Linked DNA regions of Homo sapiens: all the other regions are linked to region 1. Evidence: promoter capture Hi-C in human tissues and cell types (Jung and others, 2019). All regions are on one chromosome and are shown on one strand. Each heading gives the region's core, a stretch centred on a gene start or on the middle of the fragment in contact. The rest is flanking DNA. Distances are from core to core; before and after follow the strand shown.

The links. The method cuts DNA at HindIII sites, captures the fragments that hold promoters and counts their contacts. A contact is called where the count stands out against the background at its distance.
Region 2: a fragment that was not itself captured here is called in contact with the fragment with the promoter of PLEKHA4 in region 1 in 1 of the 25 tissues and cell types used here (lymphoblastoid cells).
Region 3: the fragment with the promoter of FUT2 here is called in contact with the fragment with the promoter of PLEKHA4 in region 1 in 1 of the 25 tissues and cell types used here (adrenal gland).

The regions. Positions count from the first base shown.
Region 1 is chr19:48,865,893-48,870,339 of GRCh38, forward strand. It overlaps PLEKHA4 (pleckstrin homology domain containing A4), which reads right to left and starts at 2,725. Exons shown (of 20, transcript NM_020904.3): 1 at 2,191-2,725; 2 at 1,645-1,734. The coding sequence starts at 1,728. The HindIII fragment of the contact is 25,039 bases long and covers 1-4,447 here.
Region 2 is chr19:48,720,919-48,725,370 of GRCh38, forward strand. RASIP1 (Ras interacting protein 1) reads right to left here. Exons shown (of 12, transcript NM_017805.3): 9 at 3,799-4,042; 10 at 3,419-3,591; 11 at 936-1,083; 12 at 1-79. Among named protein-coding and RNA genes, the nearest start is that of MAMSTR, 3.4 kb to the left of the region's middle. RefSeq lists enhancers at 1-393, 98-147 and a cis regulatory region at 1-130. The HindIII fragment of the contact is 3,220 bases long and covers 1-2,860 here.
Region 3 is chr19:48,693,000-48,697,302 of GRCh38, forward strand. FUT2 (fucosyltransferase 2 (H blood group)) reads left to right here and starts at 2,972. Exons shown (of 2, transcript NM_000511.6): 1 at 2,972-3,090. RefSeq lists enhancers at 2,243-2,806, 3,371-3,934. The HindIII fragment of the contact is 31,324 bases long and covers 1-4,303 here.

The DNA.
Region 1 (4,447 bases), core at 1,475-3,974:
AGTCCCAGCTACTCGGGAGGCTGAGGCAGGAGAATGGCGAGAACCCGGGAGGAGGAGCTTGCAGTGAGCCGAGATCGCACCACTGCACTCCAGCCCGGGAGACAGAGTGAGACTCCGTCTCAAAGAAAAAAAAAAAAAGAAAGAAAGAAAAGGGTCAAGGTGGGGGCTGAAGTTGGAGATCAGAATTGGGAGGTGTTCTTATTGCAGAGTTAAGAGACTCTTTTTTTTTTGACAGGCTCTTTGGAGTGCAGTAGCCTAAACACTGCAGCCTTTACCTCCTGGACTCAGGTGATCCTCCAGCCTCAGCCTCCCATGTAGCTGGGACCACAGGCATGTCCCACCATGCCCAGCTAATTTTTTTACTTTTTGTAGGGGACGGGGGTCTCACTTTGTTGCCCAGGCTGGGAGAGACTCTTTTTTTCTTTTTCTTTTGAGACAGAGTCTCGCTCTGTCCCCCAGGCTGGAGCACACTGGCACCATCTTGGCTCACTGCAACCCCTGCCTCTCGGGTTCAAGTGATTCTCCTGCCTCAGCCTCCTGAGTAGCTGAGATTGCAGGCACGTGCCACCACGCCTGGCTAATTTTTGTATTTTTAGCAGAGACGCGGTTTCGCCATGTCAGTCAGGCTGCTCTTGAACTCCTGACCTCAGGTGATCCACCCGCCTCAGCCTCTTAAAGTGCTGGGATTATAGGCGTGAGCCACTGCGCCGGGCCGAGACTCTTTTTTTGATGGGCAGAGGGAGGTGTTCAGAGGCAAGGAAGAGGCTGTAGGGAAGCAATTTGGGGATCAAGCATCCACTGCCAAGAAGCAGATGCCCTTGGCCACCAGAGCCAGAGCTGTAGTAGGTCCTTTGGGATCTGAACTGGGACTATGGGCTGGGAGGGCCCCATAATCAGGGGGAACTCTCACGCTGAGTCTCCAGTGAATCAAAGGATGCCCTGGTGCCCTGCGGTCACACCCCTTAGCAACCAAGTACAAGGAGAGGAAGCCTCAAATCCCTCCATCCTGCCCGGATGGAGCCTCATCTCCTGATGCCCACAGATATCTCAGGCATCCTTAGCCAGGTCCCGACAATATGCCCTTCCTTGGAAGCGGTGGTACTGACCAAGGCTGAGATCAGATCTCTGGGCTCTGAACTTGAGAAACAATATGTGTGGAACGGCAGGAGGAAAAAGAAATGAGTGTCTCCCTAAGCTTTTGGCTGGGATGCCGATTTGGGATGCAAGTATCTGGAGGCCCCTTGGGTCTTATTGTCAGAGAAGGGTCTCTCCTTATAGGATTTCATTAGTGGGTAGATTGGATGGCGAGAGATAGGACAGCAAGTTCTGGCACTAATCAAGAGCAGCCACTACTTCTCAGAACTCGAGGGGCCTCATGGCTGGGGAGCGGCTTTATCTTAGCAACCAGGGTCAAGGGAGGTTGTTACTCTGGTTTAGAATTAGGAAAATACAAAGGGTGGGGACAGAGCTGGGAGTGCCTCTGAATTCCTAGCTGCGGTGTGTAGGCAATTTGGGACCTTACTATGTCTGGCAGACCCCGTTGCTAAGGATCTTTGTCCTTAACAACCAGAGTCCTTGGGGAAACAGAAGGATGGGCGGCCCAGAGCCCCACCTTCCTCCCCATCCCCGCCAGGAAGCTCAAACCTTGGGGCTCAGGCTGCTGAGCGAGGAGATGGTGGAGGCGCTGCTGGCCAGGCTCAGGCTGCTGCGAGGTCGGCTCCCCTCCATCAAGGGCTGGGGGAGAGAAAGAAAGGGGCTGTGTCTCTGCAGTGACGGGTGTGAGACAGAGATGGGGTCAGGGGCTTGGAGGTCGGAGGAGGCTGCAGAGAAAGAGCCTGTTGTTTCGGGACTTGGGGGGCTGGGGGAGGCCATGGCCCGTGACCACATACCAAGAGTGGTGCCAAGAGAGGTAGGCGGCCCTGGCAGCTGCGGGAGGGGGCAGCTGTCTGCAGCCCAGGCCAGAGAATAGGGGCTTCTTTATTCCTGCCCACTGCACTCAGGCCAGGAATTTGACCCTCTCTGTGCTTAGGGACTCCCCATTCCCTGCCTCCTTCCGGCTGCCCCAGGCTACCTGTCTCCCGCCCTCCCACATGCACCCCCAAACCACCCCTGCCAACTCCCCAAGCCAAGCCCTGCGGCACCAGGAATGTGAACCCAGAGAGCCCCTCCCAGCCCAGCCAGGGAACTTACCCAGCTCTGGGGTCCCAGTGACGGGGGGGCAAGAGGACGGTGTGGGTGCTGCGGCACCTAGGCAGTCTCCCGCCTCCTTTGTCTCTTAGCTGCTGTCTCTCATAGTTCTCAATCTCTCTCCTCACCTGCTCACTCACACTTTTTGTCTCTTTGTCTCCTGTCTCTTACGGTCTCTCTCTCTCTCTCTTCCTTTTACACTACCTCTCTCCCCACTCTCACTTTCTGTGTCTCCCTCTGATCTCTGTCTCTTCCAGTCTCTCTCTCACTCATTCTCTCCCTCTCTCTCTCTCTCCAATCTTTCTGTTTCTGTCCAAATCTTTTATTGTCAGACTCACAGGGTCTCTTCCTTAAGTCTCTGTCTCATTCTCTCTCTCTCTCTCTCTCTGTCTCTCAGTCATCCCCTGTGTCCTCTCTCCTTCACACTCAGTCTCTTCCTCTTTCTCTCTGGCTCTGCCGTTTCCTCCCTTTTCTCTTTCCGATTTCCCTTCTCACTTTCTCCCTTCCTCCCTCTCCCAGTTTCTCTTTCCTCTCTGCTGGTCTTTCCCTGCCTCTGCCAGCCGCCCACGCTGCTGTTCTCCCCTCCCAATCCCGGCTGTCCCCGCCCCTTCTGGCCTCCCCACTACAGCCTGACCTCTGGCTCAGCTGCCCCCATAGCTGAAGGGAGGGGCTTGGGCCCCCCAATTCCCAGGTCCCCTAAGGACCAAGGTTGGGACTTCTCAGTGTTTGGAGAGTTGGACTTGAGGCCTGCACTCCAGGGCCCCCGTGGGTTTGCTGCTGTGGTTGGGGGCCTGAGCCACTGGTGTCCTAAACGGAGGAGGCTTGTGTCCTGCAAGGGGTGGGGACTCAAATTTCCAAAGCCCTGGAGGGAATGGGTTAGGGATCCAGACTCCTGGGTGCCCGAGAAGGTCTGAGCTAGGATCAGGACTCCTGAGTCGTGAAAGAGCTGGGGGTCTGGAAACATGGCTGTGCTTGGAAGGGGCCAGGGACGGTTTGTCCAGGTCCCCTAGGGAGAAAAGGGGATGGTCCCAGTAGGGCAGGGTGAAATGGAGAGTTCCAAACCTCCACCTCAGATCCAGGTGAGAATTCTCTTCTAGACTGAGGACAACTCCCTCAGGAGAGAGACATGATTCCTTGGTATATTTTGAGGAACAAGATTATGCATCCGTAGGCAGGGGAGGAGAGCGGGGGGCTGGAACTGTCACCCAGGGCCTGGAACTTGTAGCAGAAGCGCCCCCACCCGCACAAAGAGTGCCACCCAGGCAGAATCGCGGCTTGTGGGGGCAGAGCTACTGCCTAAGTCTGAAGCAGATGACACCCAGGAGTGGAGCCTTGTGCCTGTGACCGGGAAGGAATCTGAGCTTTCGGTTTAACTGCCATTCACCATGCACCTGTTGAGCACCTACTGTGTGCAGGCACTGTCTGTTGCAGCCACTGAGAAGAAAGCAGTGAGCCCTGGCTGGGTGCAATGGCTCACGCCTGTAATCCCAGCACTTTGGGAGGCCAAGGCAGGAGGATCGCTTGAGACCAGGAGTTCAACACCAGCCTGGGCATCATAGCGAGACCTTGTCTCTATTTAGAAAATGAATTTCTTTTTTTTTTTTTTTTGAGGCGGTGTTTTGCTCTGTCGCCAGGCTGGAGTGCAGTGGCGTGATCTCGGCTCACTGCAACCTCCGCCTCCCGGGTTCAAGCGATTCTCCTGACTCAGCCTCCTGAGTAGCTGGAACTACAGGCACATGCCACTGCACCCGGCCTAAATTAATTATTATTATTATTTTTTTGAGACGGAGTCTCGCTCTGTCGCCCAGGCTGGAGTACAGTGGCACGATCTCAGCTCACTGCAAGCTCTGCCTCCCAGGTTCACGCCATTCTCCTGCCTCAGCCTCCCGAGTAGCTGGGACTACAGGTGCCCACCACCACGCCCGGCTAATTTATTTTGTATTTTTAGTGGAGGCGGGGTTTCACCGTGTTAGCCAGGATGGTCTTGATCTCCTGACCTCATGATCCACCTGCCTCAGCGTCCCAAAGTGCTAGGATTACAGGCGTGAGCCACCGCGCTCAGCCTAATTACTTTTTTTTGAAAAGCATTGAGCCCAGCAAAGTGCCTGATCTCATAGTGCTTACATCCTCATTCTCATTTGCAAGGAATCTGGACCCTGCTGTGACTATCTTGGTCAAGTGGCTTCATTTCCAAGCCTGTTTCCCCATCTGTGAAATGGGAACAATGACACCCTCGCACTCGGGGAGGAAACCAACCACA
Region 2 (4,452 bases), core at 1-2,500, 150 kb before region 1:
GGACCAGTGAGGCGCAGGCGCGAGCTCCCCAGGGGGAGGATGAGGGGCGGGTGCGAGGAGAAGCTTTCGAAGATGTCCCCTGTGAGGCCGAAGGCGGCGCGGTTAGAGTCTGAAAGTGGGAGTGAGGTAGTTGCATCGGGAAGAGCCGAGGCTGCGTCACACCCAAAGGAAGAAAAAAACTACAAACCCCAGCAACTCCTGGGGCGGGGTCCGTTCACACGCTACTCTAGGAGCCCCTGGGCATGATGGAAGTTGTAGTTCAGACGATGGAAGGCCACCGTTGCCTGGGAAACGGCTTCCCAAATCCCCGAGAAAGGGCTGGGAACTTGCCTTACAGATTCCTAAAGGTGGAGGAGTCAAGTTCAGGGGAGTGAAAGTCCCGAGACCTGGACTCCTAGGGGTGGTGGGTGGGTGGCTGGTGGAGGGAATGGACTAGGGATGCGAACCCCAGAGAATAAAGGGAGCTGGGGGCTTGAACTCCTGTATCTTGACGGGGGAAGGGGCTGGGTCCTGCACTTATGTCCTGGTGGGGAGGGACAGGGGTCCAGAATCTGGGGTTAGAAGGAGACTGGGGATCTGGACTCCAAGATCCTGAGAAAAGAAGAAAGGTGAGGTGGTTCACGCCTGTAATCCCAGCACTTTGGGAGGCCGAGGCGGGCGGATCACGAGGTCAGGAGTTCGAGACCAGCCTGGCCAACACGGTGAAACCCCCGTCTCTACTAAAGATACAAAAAATTAGCCAGGCGTGGTGGCGCATGCCTGTAATCCCAGCTACTCGGGAGGCTGAGGCAGGAGAATCGCTTGAACCCGGGAGGCAGAGGTTGCAGTGAGCCAAGATCGCGCCATTGCACTCCAGCCTGAGTGACAGGGCGAGACTCCGTCTCAAAAGAAGAAGAAAGCTGACAGCCCCAATGCTGTATCCCATTGCTCCTCACCTGTGTCCACAGCCTCCCGCTCTGCAGGGGGAGGGTCCCACGCGGCTGGCGGCCCGCGGCCAGGGCCCAGCTGATAGTGGCTGAGCAGATGGTGCAGCTGGGCGGGGGTCAAGGTGGGGTGGTCGGTTCTTAGGCTGCTCCATGAAGCCTGGTGGGAAGACCAGGTGAGAGGTTGATGGTCATTACGGGGCAGTTAAGAAATGAAATGGAAGGGCTTCCATAAGGGGAGTGGGTGTGGTGGGAAGATAATGGCATCTCTGCAGTGTCTTCTGGGCACTGTGAAGTCTGTTTATCACCAAAGTGATGGTGGGGAAGGGTGTGCTCCCAGCAATTTGTAAAAATGTGATGTGCCTCAGGATAATTGAGGATACAGGAAATGAGTAGGGTGGAAATAAATAAGATTGGCCATTCGTTTATATTATTGAATCTGGCGATGGTACTTGGGGATTTTTTTTTTTTTTTTTTTTTTTTGTCCTTAAAGAGACAGGGTCTCACTCCGTCGCCCAGGCTGGAGTGCAGTGGCTCGATCGTGGCTTGCTGCAGCCTCAAACTCCCGGCTCAAGTGATCCTGGGCTCAAGTGATCCTTGGCCCCAGCCTCCAGAGTAGCTGGGACTACAGGCACACGCCACCACACCTGGTTAAGTTTTTGTAGAGATGGGATCTCACTATGCTGCCCAGGCTGGTCTCAAGCTTCTCAAAGTTCTAGGATTACAGGCATGAGCCACTGCGCCCAGTTGGGATTCATTATTCTATGGCGGCCACTCTATATCTGTTTGACAATGTCTACACCTGATGTAGCTGACGTCAGAACCATCAATGTGCTTAACATCAGAGACTCCACCTAGACTGCCTGAGTTCAAAAATCCCAGGTGGGTCACTTATTACCTTCCGGCAGGTCACCGTCCCCTAGTCTCCTCATCCATAAATTTGGAGAACAGGAACTATCTAATAGAGTTGGTATGAGGATGCAATATGGCAAAATTGTAAAGTACTTGGAACACTGCCTGGGGCTTATTAAATGCATGGTAAACTTTCTTTCTTATTGTTTTGAGACAGGGTCTTGCTTTGTCACCCATGCTGGAGTACAGTGGCATGACTGTGGCTCACTGCAGCCTCAACCTCCTGGGCTCAAGCAGTCCTTCCACCTCTGCTTCTGGAGTGGCTGGGACCACAGACGTGTGCCTCCACACCTGGCTAATTTTTAAAATTTTTGGTAGAGATGGTGTCTCCCCTATGTTGCCAACTGGTGTCAAACTCCTGGGCTCAAGCGGTCCTTCCACCTCGGCCTCCCAAAATGCTGGCATTACAGGCATTAGCCACTACGCCCAGCCCATTATAAACATTTGATATAAATAAATAAATGTCTATGGGGAACAGTTTTTGTAAGATATTTAAGAAGAAAGGAAAATAAATAATTGAAATTGGCCGGCCATGGTGGCTCACGCCTGTAATCCCAGCACTTTGGGAGGCCGAGGCAGGCGCATCCCCTGAGGTCAGGAGTTCAAGACCAGTCTGCCCAACAAGGTGAAACCCTGTCTCTACCAAAATTACAAAAATTAGCCGGGTGTGGTGGCGCGTGCCTGTTATCCCGGCTACTCAGGAGGCTGTGGCAGGAGAATCGCTTGAACTCGGGAGGCGGAGGTTGGAGTGAGCCGAGATCATGCCATTGCACTCCAGCCTGGGTGACAGAGTGAGACTCCGTCTCAAAAAAAAAAAAAAAAAAAGGAAAAATAAGTGAAATCAAGCGACCTGTCCTACCTGATTCTGTTTCCTCATCCAAAAAACAGTCAGTCACCTACTTCGATGGGGCTTTGTCAGCATTAAACTAGAAGTGCTAAACAGGGTGCCTGGCAGGTAGTTCATGTTCAATGAATGTTTTAATCATCATGTTCCTTTGTCTCATACCACACTTTCTGACTCAGCATGTCTGAGTGAGGGACCCTGGAAACTTTTTTTTTTTTTTTTTTTCTGGAGACAGGGTCTCGCTCTGTCGCCCCGGCTGGAGTGCAATGGTGCAATCTTGGCTCACTGCAGCTTCTGCCTCCCAGGTTCCAGCGATTCTCCTCCCTCAGCCTCCAGAGTAACTGGGATTACAGGCGTGCGCCATCAAGCCTGGCTAATTTTTGTATTTTTAGTAGAGACAGCGTTTCGCCATGTTGGCCAGGCTGGTCTCAAACTCCTGGCCTCAAGTGATCCACCTACTTAGGCCTCCCAAAGTGTTGGGATTATAGGCGCGAGCCACTGCTCCTGGCCTGGAAACTATTTTTAATAAGTTCCACCAGGATTCAGACACAGCCGAGTTTAGTCATTGTTGGTGCTGGCTTCCTTCTACCTGCCAATGTGTTACCCACAGTGTCTGAGCTGGGGCTGGGGATGGCATGGGGTTCAAGGGGAGCTCTGACGGTGAGCTGAATATAGAAGGTGGCTGAGGGGGGTTGAGGAGTCAGAGGTCAGGGGTCAGGTATAGCTGACCAGGAGTCACCTTGAGCAGGGAAGTGCGGGGCACACAGAGCAGGTTCACAGCCATGGAGAGTTTCCGGAAGAACTCAGTGGCAATGTCGCCCAGCCCAGCTCCCTGTAGCCAGTCCAAGACGAGGTCCAGGTTGGTTCGGATTTGAACAGCTCGGGACCATTGATAGAAAGGCCGGCCTTGACCTGTGGGTGTTAAAGGTATGAGAGGCAGTTGGTTGGCTGGACTCTGTGCTCCTGCCTCCCAGACTCTTCCTATCCTTCAGCCTGGGATCTGGAGCTTGTTCTCCAGGGTACCCAAAGGTGAGGCTTGAGCCCGTGGTGTGTCTAATATGACCTGAGTCTCAGTGGCTCCTGTCTTTGCCTCCCTGACAGCTCCCAGCCAACCTTCACCTCGTTCCATCAGCGAGTTGAGAAGGGATGCGTTGGAGAAGAAGAACAAGTAGCCAAAAGTCTGAGACACGAGGTCAGGGTGCAGCTCGCACTGGCTGGTCAGCTCCAAGGCTGCCTGGAACACGCCCAGGGTAGGTCTCAATCCTGGAGGCATGGCCCCCAGCTCCGCGCCAGGCCCCGGCAGCTCTGCACCAGCTGTGAAAGGGTTACTATCCAGGAGAGCAGGCAGCGTTGAATAGAGAGTCTGAGAAAATAGAGAAGTGGAAACAAGTGATTGGACTACAACTCCCAGGAAGCTTCAGGGTAATAGAGCATGAAGATAGTGGGGAGCTCCACCAAAGTCTTCTGGGAGTTGTAGTCCATTCTACAGTCAACACCCAAAGGGTCTCCGTGAGCAAATCCCTACTTGATAGAAGGGTATACAAGTTTCTCGAGTATTTTAAGATCACCTCTTGTGCATTGTGGGACTTGTAGTTCTCAGCAGAGACAGCTCAAGGAGGACAAAGGATACTGGACAAAGAGTTCCCTTTCAGTCAAAGAATTATTCATCCTGAATTCCCAAAGGAAAGAAAAAGAATGGAGAGTCAGGAAGTGGGAGTGGGATGGCAGTTTGCCAGTGGAAAATGAGATCAGGCCAAGGACAGGAAATGAGGT
Region 3 (4,303 bases), core at 1,722-4,221, 170 kb before region 1:
TGCCCAGGCTGGTCTTTAACTTCTGGCTTCAAGCTATGCTCCTGCCTCAGCCTCCTGAGTAGCTGAGATTACAGGTGCATGCCTCCATGCCTGGCCACCACGGCCAATTTCAAGCTACCAATATGAGATCATTGAACATGCAATTGGAAAGAAATGCACAGTATTACATTGTTCTATAGCAAGCCTATTACACAGACATAATAAATGTAAATAGGCCAGGCAAGATGGTTCATACCTGTAATCCCAGCACTTTGGGAGGCTGAGGCAGGAGGATCGCTTTGAGCTCAGGAGTTCGAGGCCAGCCTGGGTAACATAGTGAGACCCCATCTCTACAAAAAAACACAAAATTAACTGAGTGTGGTGACGGGCACCTGTAGTCCCAGCTACTCAGGAGGCCAAGGCAGGAGACTCATTTGAGCCCAGGAGGCGGAGGTTGCAGTGAGCACATACATTGATTGGCACACAGATTGGCAGATACTAACATACAGTGTGTTTTTTTCTCCAGAGAACTGGCTGGTAAGTGTTTACCATAGTAAGAAGACTTACTATAGAACAATGTATTACTGTGCGTTTCTTTCCAATTCCATGTTCAATGATCTCTTATTGGTAGCTTGAAATTGGCCGTGGTGGCCAAGCATGGGGGCGTGCACCAGTAAGGGAAAGCTGAAATGGAAAACAGAGGGTTTAGGGCAACAGTCCTGAATTCCGGAGTGCTGTCCCCCTGGGGGAGTTATGGGAATCTGTGGGGGTTGTTTTTAGTTGTCACAGTGGAGGTCCTAGGATGCTACCACAGCGTTTACGCGGCTGGGGTCAGCGACAATAAAAGTTACGCAATGAAGGTTTGTCCTGCATTCTCAGGACTTTGTTTTATTTTTGAGACAGAGTCTTGCTCTGTCACCCAGGCTGGAGTGCAGTGGTACCATCTCGGCTCACTGCAACCTCTGCCTCCCAGGTTCAAGGAATTCTCCTCCCCTAGCCTCCTGAGTAGCTGGGATTACAGGCGTGCACCACCATGCCCAGCTAATTTTGTATTTTTAGTAGAGATGGAGTTTCACTAAAAAAAAATGTTGGCTAGGCTGGTCTCAAACTCCTGACCTCAGGTGATCCTCCTGCCTCGGCCTCCCAAAGTGCTGGGATTGCAGGCATGAGCCACTGCGCCCAGGTCATTCCCATGACTTTGGAACATCTGTGGGACATTCATGGAGTTGGAAAGTCTAAGCCTCTGAGCCCCAAATCTGTTTTGCGTTTTTTTTTTTTTTTTTTTTTTGAGAGGGAGTCTTGCTCTGTCGCCCAGGCTGGAGTGCAGTGGTGTGACCTCGGCTCACTGCAAGCTCCGCCCCCGGGGTTCACGCCATTCTCCTGCCTCAGCCTCCCAAGTAGCTGGGACTACAGGCACCCACCACCACGCCCGGCTAATTTTTTTTTTATATATATTTTTAGTAGAGACGGGGTTTCACTGTATTAGCCAGGATGGTCTCAATCTCCTGACCTCGTGATCCGCCCGACTCAGCCTCCCAAAGTGCTGGGATTACAGGCGTGAGCCACCACACCTGGCCTGTTTTGCATATTTTATGACAGCTCACCTCCCCACTTCCCCGCCCCACCCTGTTTCTTTTTTCCTTGTCGCTGAATCACAGGGAAACAGGTCGTTTGTCCTGTGGACGGGCTCACATTCTGGACTGGGCTGATTGCTGCCTCATGGTGTCGTTTCACTGGGAACTTTGTCCTCCTGTTTTCTGCAAACTGGTGGTTAGAGTGGGAAGCTTGATCTGATTTTTTTGTTTGTTTGTTTGAAGGGAGCTCCGTAGCTGGTAGGTAGCCTCCTGCTGCTTAGCTGAAGCTGGGGAGTGGCTGCTGGTTTCTCTTTCCTCCTGTTAGGACTGCTGGGAGCTCTGGTGGTGCCTGCCTCTTCTCTCAGTAAAATTCCTCATCCATCTTTTTTTTTTTTGAGACAGAGTTTTGCTCTTGTTTCCCAGGCTGGAGTGCAATGGTGTAATCTCAGTTTACTGCAACCTCCGCCTCCCAAGTTCAAGCGATTCTCCTGCCTCAGCCTCCCAAGTAGCTGGGATTACAGGTGCATGCCACCACGCCCCACTGATTTTTGCATTTTTAGTAGAGACAGGGTTTCACCATGTTGGCCAGACTGGTCTCAAACTCCTGACCTCAGGTGATCCACCTGCCTCGGCCTCCCAAAGTGCTGGGATTACAGGCATGAGCCACTGTGCTGGGCCATGGCTAATTTCTGTATTCTTATAAGGACGGGGTTTCACCTTGTTGGCCAGGCTGGTCTCTGACTCCTGACCTCAGTTGATCCGCCTGCCTCGGCCTCCCAAAGTGCTAGAATTACAGGTGTGAGTCACCACACCGGGCCCATTTGTATTTAAAAATTTTTTTGAAATAGGCAGGGCGAGGTGGCTCACGTCTGTAATCCCAGCACTTTGGGAAGCTGAGGCAGGAGAATCCCTTGAACTTGTGAGGCGGCGGTTGCAGTGAGCTGAGATCACGCCATTGCACTCCAGCCTGGGCAACAAGAGCAAAACTCTCTCAAAAAGTAATACTACTAATAATTAATTAATAAATAAATATAAGACTCTGAGGGGACTCAGAGTCAGCGAGAGCCTGGCCTAGCAGGACTCTGTCCCCCGCCTCCATGCTGCCTTCCTGGAGGCCTTCCTGGCTGCCTGGAGGAGCGGAGCAGAGTGGGGGCCCCTTTCTGTTGGGGCATCACAACAGTTCCCCAAGGAAGACCCTCGGGGACCCGGATGGGGGATGCGACCTTGTCCTGCCTCTCTCCCCCACCCTTATGGCCAGGCTTGGGGTGCCTGGTGCAGGTGGAGGAGCTAAGGGTAGATAACAAGATGGACTTTGTGGCCGGCAATGGGGAGGGAGGAGGGGCTACGGGCTCACCTCCCTCCCGCAGCCCAGCCACACCTGCTCTGGAAAGCCCTGTAGCTCCTGGGCGGGGTTTGCCAGTCACCGATGCTGGAAGGGTTTCTTTGGCCCTGAGTGAAGAGAGACCCAGAGGGAACACTGAGGTGCCTGCCCAACCACTCTGTCCCGGTTTCCTTCAGCAGGACCAGGTGAGAGAAGGTGAGGGGGCTCCTCTCCCACCCTACAACACGCACACCTCTGCACACACGCCCAGGCGGAGAGCAGGGATTTGGGACGTGGACCTGTGTGCCCTCGTGGGTCCCTGGTGCCCTCTGGGAGGCACCCCCAACTCAGGACCTCCAGGAGAGGAGGGTCCCTCCCTCGGCAGCCAGGACCCCCCTCCCCAGCCAGCCGCCCTCCTTAGCTCCCTCCCCACTTCCTTCCAGGTGGATCTGTTTCTAGAGCTCCAACCACCAGCTCCCTCCCCTTCTCCACCCCGGGCCACCAGGTCCTTCCTTGTCTCCTTCCCCTCAGCAGTTTCTATGAACCACCCTGGCAGTAATGGTGCAGATGGCTCGCGCACAGCTGGTGGTGACCCGACTTTCCTGCCTCCACCCTGGGGCTCCTCAGAGGCTTCATGGAACCCAAACTGCTGGTCTCACCTCCGAGCCCTGCCGTCGCCCAGGGAGGGCGGCTCCGTCCCTCCTGCACTCCCTAATCCCGCTCTGAATCACCGCTTCTGTTCTGGGTCGGAGAATAAAGGTGGGGTTTCCAAGTGATGGCCCTACGTTATTGTCTGAAGCTCCCTTCTCCTCCCCAGGGTGGAAGTGATAATGCCGGGAATCCGGGAATCCCGGGGAGGTGCAGGAAGACAGCGAGCTCGAGGCAGTGGGGTGCGACTGAGCCGGATGTGCTGAGCTGCCCGGGGCACGGGGCGGTTGGGGTAGAGAAAGGCTTTCAGAGCTGGGGGACAGGACGGGGCCCCGGGTGAGCGGAGAGCTGGGTTATTTCACGGGAACAGCTGGTGACAAAGCCGGAGGGGTGTGCGGGGCCGGCGAGAGACTGGGATTGTGTCTTAAGAGGCATAGGGAGCCCTGAAGGGGCTGCGAGCTGGGAAGGGGCAGGGCCGGCGCTGGGTGTAGGGGACAGAGGGGAGAGGAGGAAGCCGGGCCGCAATAGAAAGACGTGGACGGGGCTGGACGTGGTGGCTGACGCCTGTAATCCCAGCACTTTGGGAGGCCGAGACAGGCGGATCACTTGAGGTCAGGAGTTCGAGACCAGTCTGGCCAACATGGAGAAACCCCGTCTCTACTAAAAATACAAAATTAGCCAGGCGTGGTGGTGCATGCCTGTAATCCCAGCTACTCGGGAGGCTGAGGCAGGAGAATCGTTTGAACCCGGGAGGCGGAGGTTGTGGTGAGCCGAGATTGTG